Linked DNA regions of Homo sapiens: all the other regions are linked to region 3. Evidence: promoter capture Hi-C in 16 types of primary human blood cells and fetal thymus (Javierre and others, 2016). All regions are on one chromosome and are shown on one strand. Each heading gives the region's core, a stretch centred on a gene start or on the middle of the fragment in contact. The rest is flanking DNA. Distances are from core to core; before and after follow the strand shown. Region 1 overlaps CACNB2 (calcium voltage-gated channel auxiliary subunit beta 2). Region 2 overlaps CACNB2 (calcium voltage-gated channel auxiliary subunit beta 2). Region 3 holds the start of HACD1 (3-hydroxyacyl-CoA dehydratase 1). Region 4 overlaps CACNB2 (calcium voltage-gated channel auxiliary subunit beta 2).

Evidence for each region. Contacts are between HindIII fragments. The CHiCAGO score rates a contact against its expected background, and 5 or more counts as called.
Region 1: a fragment that was not itself captured here is called in contact with the fragment with the promoter of HACD1 in region 3 in 2 of 17 cell types (M2 macrophages and fetal thymus); the score reaches 6.1 in M2 macrophages.
Region 2: a contact is called between a fragment that was not itself captured here and the fragment with the promoter of HACD1 in region 3, in 2 of 17 cell types (M1 macrophages and monocytes). The highest score is 5.6, in M1 macrophages.
Region 4: a fragment that was not itself captured here is called in contact with the fragment with the promoter of HACD1 in region 3 in 4 of 17 cell types (M1 macrophages, fetal thymus, M2 macrophages and 1 more); the score reaches 8.0 in M1 macrophages.

Annotation. Positions count from the first base shown.
Region 1 is chr10:18,169,622-18,172,321 of GRCh38, reverse strand. The region is part of intron 2 of CACNB2 (calcium voltage-gated channel auxiliary subunit beta 2); the gene reads right to left. Among named protein-coding and RNA genes, the nearest start is that of CACNB2, 31 kb to the right of the region's middle. The HindIII fragment of the contact is 501 bases long and covers 1,026-1,526 here.
Region 2 is chr10:18,146,660-18,149,359 of GRCh38, reverse strand. The region is part of intron 1 of CACNB2 (calcium voltage-gated channel auxiliary subunit beta 2); the gene reads right to left. Among named protein-coding and RNA genes, the nearest start is that of CACNB2, 7.6 kb to the right of the region's middle. The HindIII fragment of the contact is 1,172 bases long and covers 764-1,935 here.
Region 3 is chr10:17,615,926-17,618,625 of GRCh38, reverse strand. It overlaps HACD1 (3-hydroxyacyl-CoA dehydratase 1), which reads left to right and starts at 1,252. Exons shown (of 7, transcript NM_014241.4): 1 at 1,252-1,543. The coding sequence starts at 1,287. RefSeq lists a silencer at 1,052-1,711. The HindIII fragment of the contact is 16,531 bases long and covers 1-2,700 here.
Region 4 is chr10:18,193,679-18,196,378 of GRCh38, reverse strand. The region is part of intron 2 of CACNB2 (calcium voltage-gated channel auxiliary subunit beta 2); the gene reads right to left. Among named protein-coding and RNA genes, the nearest start is that of CACNB2, 55 kb to the right of the region's middle. The HindIII fragment of the contact is 1,933 bases long and covers 451-2,383 here.

The sequences.
Region 1 (2,700 bases), core at 27-2,526, 550 kb before region 3:
CATGATCTTGGCTCACTGCAACCTCCACTTCCCCAGTCCAAGTGATCCTCCCACCTCAGCCTCCTGAGTAGCTGGGACTACAGGCACTTGCCACTACACTCGGCTAATTTTTTGTATTTTCAGTAGAGACGGGGTTTTGCCATGTTGGCCAGGCTGGTCTCGAACTCCTGACCTCAAGTGATTCTCCCACCTCAGTCTCCCAAAGTGCTGGGATTACAGGCCTGGGACACTGTGCCCCACCACTTTTTGCCCTTGAAACATGCCAAGATCCTGGTTTTGTAATCCCGCACGGTCCTAGACTTTCTACCTTCTTAGTTTCCTCTACTATTCATCTAGATATATGCCTAAAGGAGGATCAGTTAGCTCCACAGAGAAGAAACAGAGTATTTATGAAATGTCAGCTTTTGCTCTGCACATAGTGGGGTGGGAGGTGAGGGGCAGACACTGATGTAAGCATTGATGTAATAACAGAAGTGTGTTATTGCCACTAATAATCTGCTTGCCCAACATCTTTATTTATTGTATTTGACTTCTCCGGGTAACAATTCCCACCCTCCTTTCTGCATTAAACTCAGAATTGTGCCCTGCTGCCAACTCTGATGGTACTTGATCCCAACTGGTTCATCAGAGTGCTTCATCCTTGTCCAAACAGATGAGTCCAAACGGTGGTGTGTGAACGGTGGTGTGTAAACTAAGTGAGTCAAATAAGAGTCCTTCCTTTTTTTTTTTTTTTTAAACTGGAATTAAGAAGGATGAAGAAGAACAAATAGCCTTTTTTTTTTTTTTTTTTTTTTTTTTTTCTGCTATCAAAGCCGGGAAGAAGGGAGCCTGGAGCTTCCAACTGCCATGTTGCTGCCTGCATGGGGAAATCTGGTTTGGGTTATAGAGAATCAAATACCCATGCGGGGGAGACACAGTCCAGGCAGCATCCTGCCCCCAGCCCAGGAATACCCCTGACTGTTACAGTTATGGGTGGCAACATATCTCTTGTTGCCTATGCAACTTTGAAATGGGATTCTGAAGCTTACAACCAAAATATCCTAACTTATCACAATCCCCTTTCCAAAGAATAACCCTACATTTCTTGGCTGGAGAAATTGAGTGAAACATGCTAGAAGAGACCCTAATGCCTGGCAGAAGACAGGACTGAATGTCCTTAACAGATCTACCCAATTCCACTTGCAAAATCTCCAGTGCTGTTAAACATAATGGACAATTATGACTACAAAGATCTAAAAACAACAAGAACAGCGATTTTCTCTGCAGGTAGGCAGAGTGTGCGTTTAATGATGCAGCCAGCGGTACCAAATAGAGCACACACGGTCTTGAGCACCTTGCAAGGCGGTAAATGAATCTTCTCTTCCATTGAATTAAGATTCCATGCAAGAATTATCATTACTTTAAAAAATATATGGAAAATCTTAATATGTTAATTTCCCCCAATTAGTAAGATTCCCAAACATGTTATTAAATTTCTCTAAGATGTCTAGTATTGTGGTAAAATGTGACAATACTATAATCAAGCTTAAAAGAGCATTGTCAAGAATACAACGTATTGGTTTCTAAAACCAACATAACTGTTTTCCCTCTAGCACGTCAGTGCTGCTCAAATGTCATTAAGACTATAAAAATTTGATTTAGTTAGTCTTCTTGTCCTCACAAGGGTTTTTCAACACACAAACACACAACCCACCAACATTCTAATTTTTAATGGCAGTGGGGCGTGGTTTTATCACGAAGACTAAGAATTGAAAATTTTAAAAATATAGAGGCAGTACACATGACTCTGAATGCATGTTCTGATGCCAGTATATTTACACGTATATTCCCAGGAAGATATATTTTCACAGACTCACTCTCAATGCCATCAGGAATCCACTTCTACTAAATAGAAAAGGGTGCACTATAGTTTGAAAAAGGCTGGAGGGATGGCAAGGACTTATTCTTTCACCTTTCCCTGGAGTCTGGCATTTTCTTAAGCCATCTGTAGGAATCTGAGAGCTCTCAGGTCAACTTCATTCATTCATTCTGTAAAGTGGACCTCAGTTCTTTTTGTTACCATCCTACATCCATTCATTCCTCCTCCAGAAATAGCCCTCTGAGAAGGAACACCCCTCCTCATTCTTAGCCTTGTGTGGAGTTGATTTTTCTCCCACCTCTAAAGTGAACTTATGGCTTGGGCCAGGCCCATCAGTGGGTCACAGATCCCCAGCCTCAGTGATTAGTTCATGGACATGCCATCATCCAACCAGAGCCAATGAGGTGCACTGCAGTATGAACCAGGAAGAAAGTGGGCCTAAAGCTGTTGGGAGCCATCTTGTCATCACCTAGAGCTGAGAATGAAACCAACATGGAAGACAGTAGAGGCCAGAGATGGAAAGACATCAGCTGCCCAATGACATCAATGAGCTATTGACAACTGGGCTCTGCAGTTACATGAGTCCATAAATGTCCTTGTTGCTTTAAAGCCAGCCTGAGTCATGTTTGTGGTCTCCTGCAACAGAGAATTCTAACTGATGTACCCTGTTTTCCCTCTTTTAGACGATCAGCATAGGGAAATTCTGGGGGAAGGATGTGAAAAAGTGGGAAGATTGGTTCTGTAACTACAAGTGACAAGCAAGAAGACACTGTGACCCAAGAAGTATGAGTTCCCAATAAAGTGTTAATCTCCGCTACCTAGTATGAAACACCTACCTTACA
Region 2 (2,700 bases), core at 100-2,599, 530 kb before region 3:
TAACAGCTCATTCTTTTTACTTGTGTAAACATTATTCAGTAAACTGTTGAAAAATAACATTCTTTTAACCACTTTTTTTCTTTTCCAATTATTATGTAAAGGTTTGGACAGATGCATTTTCTAAGGCCTAAGAAGGCTAAAATAAAGTATGAAAATCTCTTTAAAATTTTCTTTTAAATTTATATTAACCTATGTGCAAAAATACTTATTACCTAGAAAGTATTTTTAAGGCCTGTTTCTTTGGGGGTGTAGCGACAATCTTTGTTAAATTCACCGTTTATCCTCATGAGGAACATGAATTATCTTTGAGAACAAAGACAAAATATAATCTCATCCCATTTTTTTTTTTTTTTTTGAGACAGTGTCTTGTGCTGTCACCCAGGCTGGAGTGCAGTGATATGATCATGGCTCACTGCAGCCTTGACTACACCCCACACCCTCTGGGCTCAAGCAATCCTCCCACCTCAGCCTCCCAAGTAACTGGAACTACAGGCACACATTGCCGTGCTTGGCTAATTTTTGTTTTTTGTAGAGACAGGGTCTCACTATGTTGCCTAGGCTGGTCTTGAACTCATGACTTTAAGCAATTCTCCCGCCCCAGCCTCCCAAAGTGGTGGGACTACAGGAGTGAGCTACCATGTCCAGCCTCCAGTACCGTTTTTAAATGAACAGAAAAGAGTATCTTCGCAATTCTATTGTCCTTTAATTTTAGCATTTTAGTGATAAATATGTCTCATTATCCAACTTCTTGAATGTGTAAGCTTTTTTGTGGTTGCTTACAATTGTACAACAGGCACTGTGAGAGCCACACAATGTTGAAGACATTCAGTCACAGAGGAGGTGGCTGTTCTCTGCAAGAAGTTGAACACATTTAAAAACTCACATTAATTTTTCCAGACCCCTGGGAATCCTGTTCATAAATGTTATTTCAGGCGTACTTAGCTACCTATGCAAAGTATATGTAATGAAATTATTACAGTTTTCAACTGTACTAAGATAGTTTATACACCAAACAACTATAGCACACTGAACTGCATGCATGCTGGTGATAGTTTTGAGAAAAAAAATTGTTCTTCAATTACTTAAGTGTATAAGGGATGATTTATTTAAAGTATTCATTTGCTCATGCCTTAAGAGTGTTAGAGCAAATCCCTATCATATATCATATTAAAAGACAAAATAAATATATATGCTTCATTATATCTCTATTCTGTTATTTTACTAATTTCCACAGGAATTTCTCTTCTAAAGTTTCTTTTTTTTTAAAAAACTGTAGAGTGATTACTTACTGACCAGTTATTTTGTTATTATAATAACAGTCAGGATCAGAAAACAAAAAAACATTTAAAGCATCTTTGGAAAGCTAATAGTCCATTTTCATATACCTTTAAAAATGTTAGTGAAAATTCATCCTGCTATTACAAAATTAAATTTATTTTAATCTAATGTGTATTTAAAATTAAGTCCATCTTGCTCGAAAGATTTGGTTTTCAGTTACTTGAAATCCTTGAAAATAAGGACTAGACTACTTCTTCTGAAGGAATTAAGGGGGGAAAAAAGTGAAGGCCAAACCTCTCCCAAACGGAAAAGACAGGGAAGATTAAGTGTTCAAATATTTAGCTGACTAAATTTGAAAAAAAAAATATATGTAATTGTTTTAGTTAATTTGCTACTTCAAGTGCAGCTACTTTTGTGAACAGTTTTTCTAAATATTTTTTACCAGCATTAAAATATATGAACGCCCAATATCTGAAACAGTTAATCATTAGTGCAGCCCAGGTTGTATAAGGAAAAGGGGAGACAGGAAAGGGGATTTGGCTGTAGTACAAGGTGTTACCTATAGATTCTCCCTGACACATGCAGGTCTCTGTGTCCTTCTTGAAAGAGTCCCAAAAGTCACTAATTTCCACTAATTGCTATTAGCTATATGAAGCTTAAAACAAATTATGTCACCACAGTAAAAAGAAAAAAAAAACTCTTATATTTATATTCCTTTAGTTGTTCCAAAACATCAAGCTAAGATTTCAGAAACTAGGGAAAAAAATTCTTAAGAAATTTCCAAAAATATATTAATGACTTATTAAAAAGACATTCAAAATCCATCATGATGTTAATATCAGCTTAGTGTGAATGAATATCCATCTTCCTTGACACGAAGTAACTTAAGAATGGACTCCAGTCTTAAAAATCAGCAAATAAATGTTGACCTTTTCACAGGTAATGAAAATCTAATTGCTGCATGATTGAAGGAGACAGGAATAATTAATTACAGAAGTTGTCAGTTAACTGGAGATTTTAGCCGTGCACTCAAAGTTGTCTTGGCAGCCCCTGGGGACAACCTGAAGAATGATGTGGCTTCTGTGCTTTTATGGTTATTGTGACACTTCTCCTACCTACAGATTACTTCCCATGAGCAAAATACTGACACTTAAAATTAGGCCGGGCACGGTGGCTCATGCTTGTAATCCCAGCACTTTGAGAAAGCAATGTGGGTGGACCACCTGAGGTCAGGAGTTTGACACTAGCCTGGCCAACATGGCGAAACCCTGTTTCTACTAAAAAATACAAAAGTTAGGCTGGGCACAGTGGCTCACACCTGTCATCCCAGCACTTTGGGAGGTAGAGGCAGAGGGAAACAGATCATTTGAGGTCAGGAGTTCAAGACTAATGTGACCAACATGGTGAAACCCCATCTCTACT
Region 3 (2,700 bases), core at 3-2,502:
TTCACACAGCTAATAAAATGGGAGGATTCAGGAATTTGGGGGTTGTATTTCAGTAGGTGCAAGGAATTTCAAAAGGTAATGTCATCAGTTAAGGCAGGAACCGGCCACACTTCTTTAGTGATTCTTCAGTTACTTTAGGCCATCTGGATGTATACGTGCAGGTCACAGGGGATATAATGGCTTAGCTTGGGCTCAGAGGCCTGACACTTGGTAAATAGACACACACACAGACACACAGACACACAGACACACACACACACACACACACACGCTCCGGTAAAATTCACACAAGTGAGGCCGGGTGCGGTGGCTCACGCCTGTAATCCCAGCACTTTGGGAAGCCAAGGCGGGTGGATCACTTGAGGCCAGGAGTTCGGGACCAGCCTGGCAAACGTGGTGAAACCGTCTCTACTAAAAATAACAAAAATTAGCCGGGCGTGGTGGTGCATGACTGTAGTTCCAGCTACTCGGGAGGCTGAGGCAGGAGAATCTCTTGAATCAGGGAGGCGGAGGTTGCAGTGAGCCGAGATCACAACACTGCACTCCAGACTGTAAAAAAAAAAAAAAATAAGAAATGAAAAAGGAAAAAAAAATCACTCAAGTGGGACGGTCTTCTCACTGTTGGAAGACCTGTTGGACTCGCTAGTAAACGGGAAACAGGGCGAAATAGGCGTTTCTTCCCCAGAAGCTCTTAAGAATGAATGAATGTTTGGCCCAGCGCTGTGGCTCAGGCTTGTAATCACAGAACTTTGGAAGGCAGAGGTGGGAAGATTGCTTGAGCTCACGAAATTGCAGTGAGCTATGTTCACGTCACTGCCCTCCAGCCTAGGAGACAGACTGAGACCGCATCTCTAAAAAGAAAAGAATGAGTGGCGGGAAGATCCCGCTCCCTGCCTGCGTATTGAGAAACTGCCTTACAAAAGGCCAGGCAGGGCAGAGCCACGCCAAGTTCAGGTGCGTTCCCTGTGTCCCCACTAAATGCACTCGCAGGGTGCGCATCGCCAGGGCGCAAGGCGTCTGGGCGTCTCTCTATGAAGAGGCGCCCGCAGCTAGCGAGGCGGGTGCACTTTCCTCGGGAGCGGAAACTACAGCGCCGCCTGGAAAGCGTGCCGGGGCTCGCGGGTCCTGGATCCCCAGTGCCAGGGCCAGGCGTTCTGGCCCCCGAGTGGCGCGCGCTCCCAAGGGGCGGGGCGGGGCGGGGGCGTGACGGGCGGTGGCCGGGGGCGTCCGCTCCTCCCCCTCGCGGTCGGTAGAGCTGGCTGCGCCGAGCCCCCTGCGCGCTGCACATGGGGCGCCTGACGGAAGCGGCGGCAGCGGGCAGCGGCTCTCGGGCTGCAGGCTGGGCAGGGTCCCCTCCCACGCTCCTGCCGCTGTCTCCCACGTCCCCCAGGTGCGCGGCCACCATGGCGTCCAGCGACGAGGACGGCACCAACGGCGGCGCCTCGGAGGCCGGCGAGGACCGGGAGGCTCCCGGCGAGCGGAGGCGCCTGGGGGTCTTGGCCACCGCCTGGCTCACCTTCTACGACATCGCCATGACCGCGGGGTACGCGCGCCGCGGGGCACCCTCGGGCCCTCCCCGCGCCGCGGTCCGCGGAGGTTCCGGGTTCAGGGGGCGCGGGCCGGGGTGTAAGGGGCGCGGGGGGTGCGGGCAGCGGCCGTGGGGGAAGGGAGCTGTCGCCGCGGCCACCGCCGGGGTTGAATGGAGCGGGCGGGGGGGCCGGGCCCTGCGCGCCTGGCATTGCCTAATACGGTGCACGGCGGGGCGCTGGCCGGAGGTTAAGTATAGAACCGGGCAGGAATGCGGTGCCGGCCCGCGGGGGAGGTGGCTGCTGCCCCGGCGCCGCTGCCTTCGCTGCTGTTGAAGGAGCGCCCAGCCCTGGCCACTCGATGGTCTCGGGAGCGCAGAGCTTCATGCTGCGATCGCTGGGCAGAGTTTTCGCCCCTGTTAATTTCACCGCGACTTTTTTTTTTTTTTTTTTTTAAAGCACAGCACGTCCTAGAGCTTGTCACTTGGGACGATTTTGAAATAACCACCCCACTTATCCCAGCGTGGAGCTCCTGCCCAGCATCTTTATGGCCTCAGGCTCCGTGGCTGATAAGCTGGACCTTGATTTTTGGCTTTGAGTATGACTTTGCAAGTTAAGGTTACACAATGACTGTCGCTCTTCGCAGAGCTCTCAAAGTGACTTTTGTGTCAACTGCTTCTCAAAACCTGTTGGGAAAATGCTTTTCCATTTCTCAATTGCACTGCCTTTTAAAAAAGTTATTTTCCCATTATCACTCGAAGTATTAACTTATGTAAACGCGAGGAAAAGTTTACTATTTTCTTTTTTTCTTTTTATTATTTATTTATTTATTTTGAGACGGAGTCTCGCTCGGTCTTGGCTGGAGTGCAGTGGCGGGATCTCGGCTCACTACAAGCTCCGCCTCCCGGGTTCATGCCTTTCTTCTGCCTCAGCCTCCCGAGTAGCTGGGACTACAGGCGCCCGCCACCACGCCTGGCTAATTTTTTTGTATTTTTAGTAGAGACGGGGTTTCACCATGTTAGCCAGGATGGTCTCCATCTCCTGACCTCATGATCCGCCCGCCTCGGCCTCCCAAAGTGCTGGGATTACAAGCGTGAGCCATCCCGCCCTGACAGTATTTTATTTTATTTTTTAGACGGAGACTCATTCTGTCGCCCAGGCTGGAGTGCATTGG
Region 4 (2,700 bases), core at 168-2,667, 580 kb before region 3:
GGCTGCTGCAATGAGCCATGATCAGGCCACTGCACTCCAGCCTGGGCAACAGAGCAAGACCCTGTCTCAAAAAAAAAAAAAAAAAGTTTTGTTGGTGGTGGTGCTGCCATTGTATTGTTAAACAGCTTAGTAGTGTCGGTTAAAGTCAACTTTGAAGCCACATAGTGGGTACAAACCCCACAGTTACAAGCCATGTAATTATAAGCAATTTACTTAATCTCTGTGTCACATCTGTAAAATAAGAATAGTAATAATAATATTAGCTTCCTTTTGGCAGGGATACGTTGTGGATCAAATGAGTTAATATGTGTAAAGCTCATGCAAAACAGAGCCTGGGGACATAGTAAGTGCTCAGTGCTGGCCATCACTAGGGTTACTATTGCTGCTGAGATTCACAGAGAGAGAAATAAAGAATTTTAAAAAGGAATCACAGAGATCCAGATAAAAGCTTGTTTTGAAGACTACAGATGCATTTTAATTAATGAAACAAAGAAGAGTATGCTCTGTACCAAAGAGTTGACTCTGATGACAAATGCAAGTTCATAGACATTACACAGAAAGCGACAGCTTTTACTGCTTTTTTTCTTCTTCTGCAACAACTCAAGGAGAAATGGACCAGTGTCAGAACCAGTCCACAGATTGAGGGGTGAGCCCCACCACTTATCAACGAATGCAGGTATCACAGTGACAAAGAGCCATCTCTGCCTGGTCAGGCACCGACAGTCTGAACAGTCTAAAGAACAGAGAACATTCTTGGCACGTGCATCCCAGCATTGCTGCGCATCTCTCTGGCCGAGAGCCAGGAGCTCATAATCCACGCTCTCTTGATGAGTGGAATGCATTTATGAGACATTTACCAAAAGCTGAGACACAATCTGTAACCCCAGCACAAAGTGAATCTCGTTGACCCACCCAGAACTAGAACTGGGATCTCGCCTGATTGGTCCCACTTGATACCCCCTGAGAGATCAATTATCCCAGAACCTCTCTGATAGCTGGGGTGGGTCAATGTGTGTTGATGGGCTTGTATGTGTAAGCATTTCCTCAACTGGTATGAGAATATAGTGCTGGGCGCTTCCGTTTGAAGCACTGATTCTGTCTTCCTCTGTTTACATTGGAACTTCTCCTGTGGCATGTAAAGCCTCAAAATATGCACTTTTATATAAACTTACTAAACTGCTAACAACTGTTTAATGACTGCCTAAAATAGCTGGAGTGAAAAAGAGCAAAGCCCATTACATTTTGGGAAAGCATTCCTGAGGTCATCTTAAACTCTCCTTTGCAGTAGCTGGATATTTAAAGAAATGCCATATCTTCATTATACTTGGTCATATATTTTTAAACTCTAAGGAAAAAAAATTTGAGACCATACACATCCTAAGAATCAGCCTCATTGAAGGTCTCCAAATGCTGAATTTAGAGCTAAAAGTTTGAAACCAGAGCAATTCTTATTTCTGAAATGAATCTTCTGAGAAACTGGAAATCAACATCACTATAAAGTGAATGGACATCATGATGTCGAAACTGTATTCCATGTCACATGACTGGAACTGCTAAAAACATAATTGTAGGAATGTTCGTTTCATAAAACACAGACTTCAGCACAGAATTTTGTAAAAGGCCTGCAAAGATAAGGTTGAATCTGGATATTTTCTCAGGGACAAAAAGACTCCAATTCTCATCTTTCAAGTGAAAATCTTCTAATAGGAGACACTAAACAAAATATATCTCCCCCACACCCATCTATTGCCTCAGCTGTGATTGCCTGTCCCAGAATGAACAGGTCTGATTTAAAAGAGGACATCACAGAGAGGAACCTGATAAACTTAAAGCCTTTGTTGGTTGCCCTCAGGGCACAACACCAGAAGCCCATGGGGTACCTGATAATTACAAATTGTCTGAGCTATAAAGATGTCCAGAATCTTCTAGAAGCCCCTTCTAGAAGATTCTAGAATCCCTGACAAACTGAGCTATAGCCTACAGTCTTTACAACTTTGAGTCTCATTGTCAGGTAAATTGGGAAGATTTGGTTCACTCCCACCTGGCTTCCTTCAGCTGGGGGGCCTGGAGTTGCTGACAGCCCTAGGGGCCTAATTTTCACCGTCATTCATTAACCAGTTGCAACTGCAAAGACATCTTAGTGTATTGAGCAAAGTGAAGGAGACAGATGAACATCAAGAGATGACTGTGAAAACCTGGAAGAGCAGGGACTCAGATGACAGGAAAGGAACCACAGCAGTGAGCTCAGAGGCATGGGGCATCTCTGTCTGGATAAACTCTGATTGAGAGAATCCTTCATACTCAACTCCTTCCAGACTGTGCTCACACCACAGCTTCTCCAAAAGGTCTACCCCACTTTCCCCAACCCAATACTCCAGAAGCTTTCTATCCTGGTCTACTTTTTCTTTTTATTTTTTTCTGTAGCACTTATCACCTCCTAACATACCATAGGATGTATTTATTAAGCTTATTGCTCAATGTCTATCTTCCCCTGCAGAATGGAAGCTCACAAAAGCAACAAGCTTCATGTGTTTGAGTGACTGATGCTTCATGAGCACCCAGAGGAGTACCCAGCATATAATCAGGATGCATACATATTTACTGAATAAATGAATGAATCTAGGAGTTTATCTGTTTGTCCAGAAAGCTTTAGTTTCCTTTCTACAAGCACTCCTCCATAGCCCACCAGCTCACTCCATC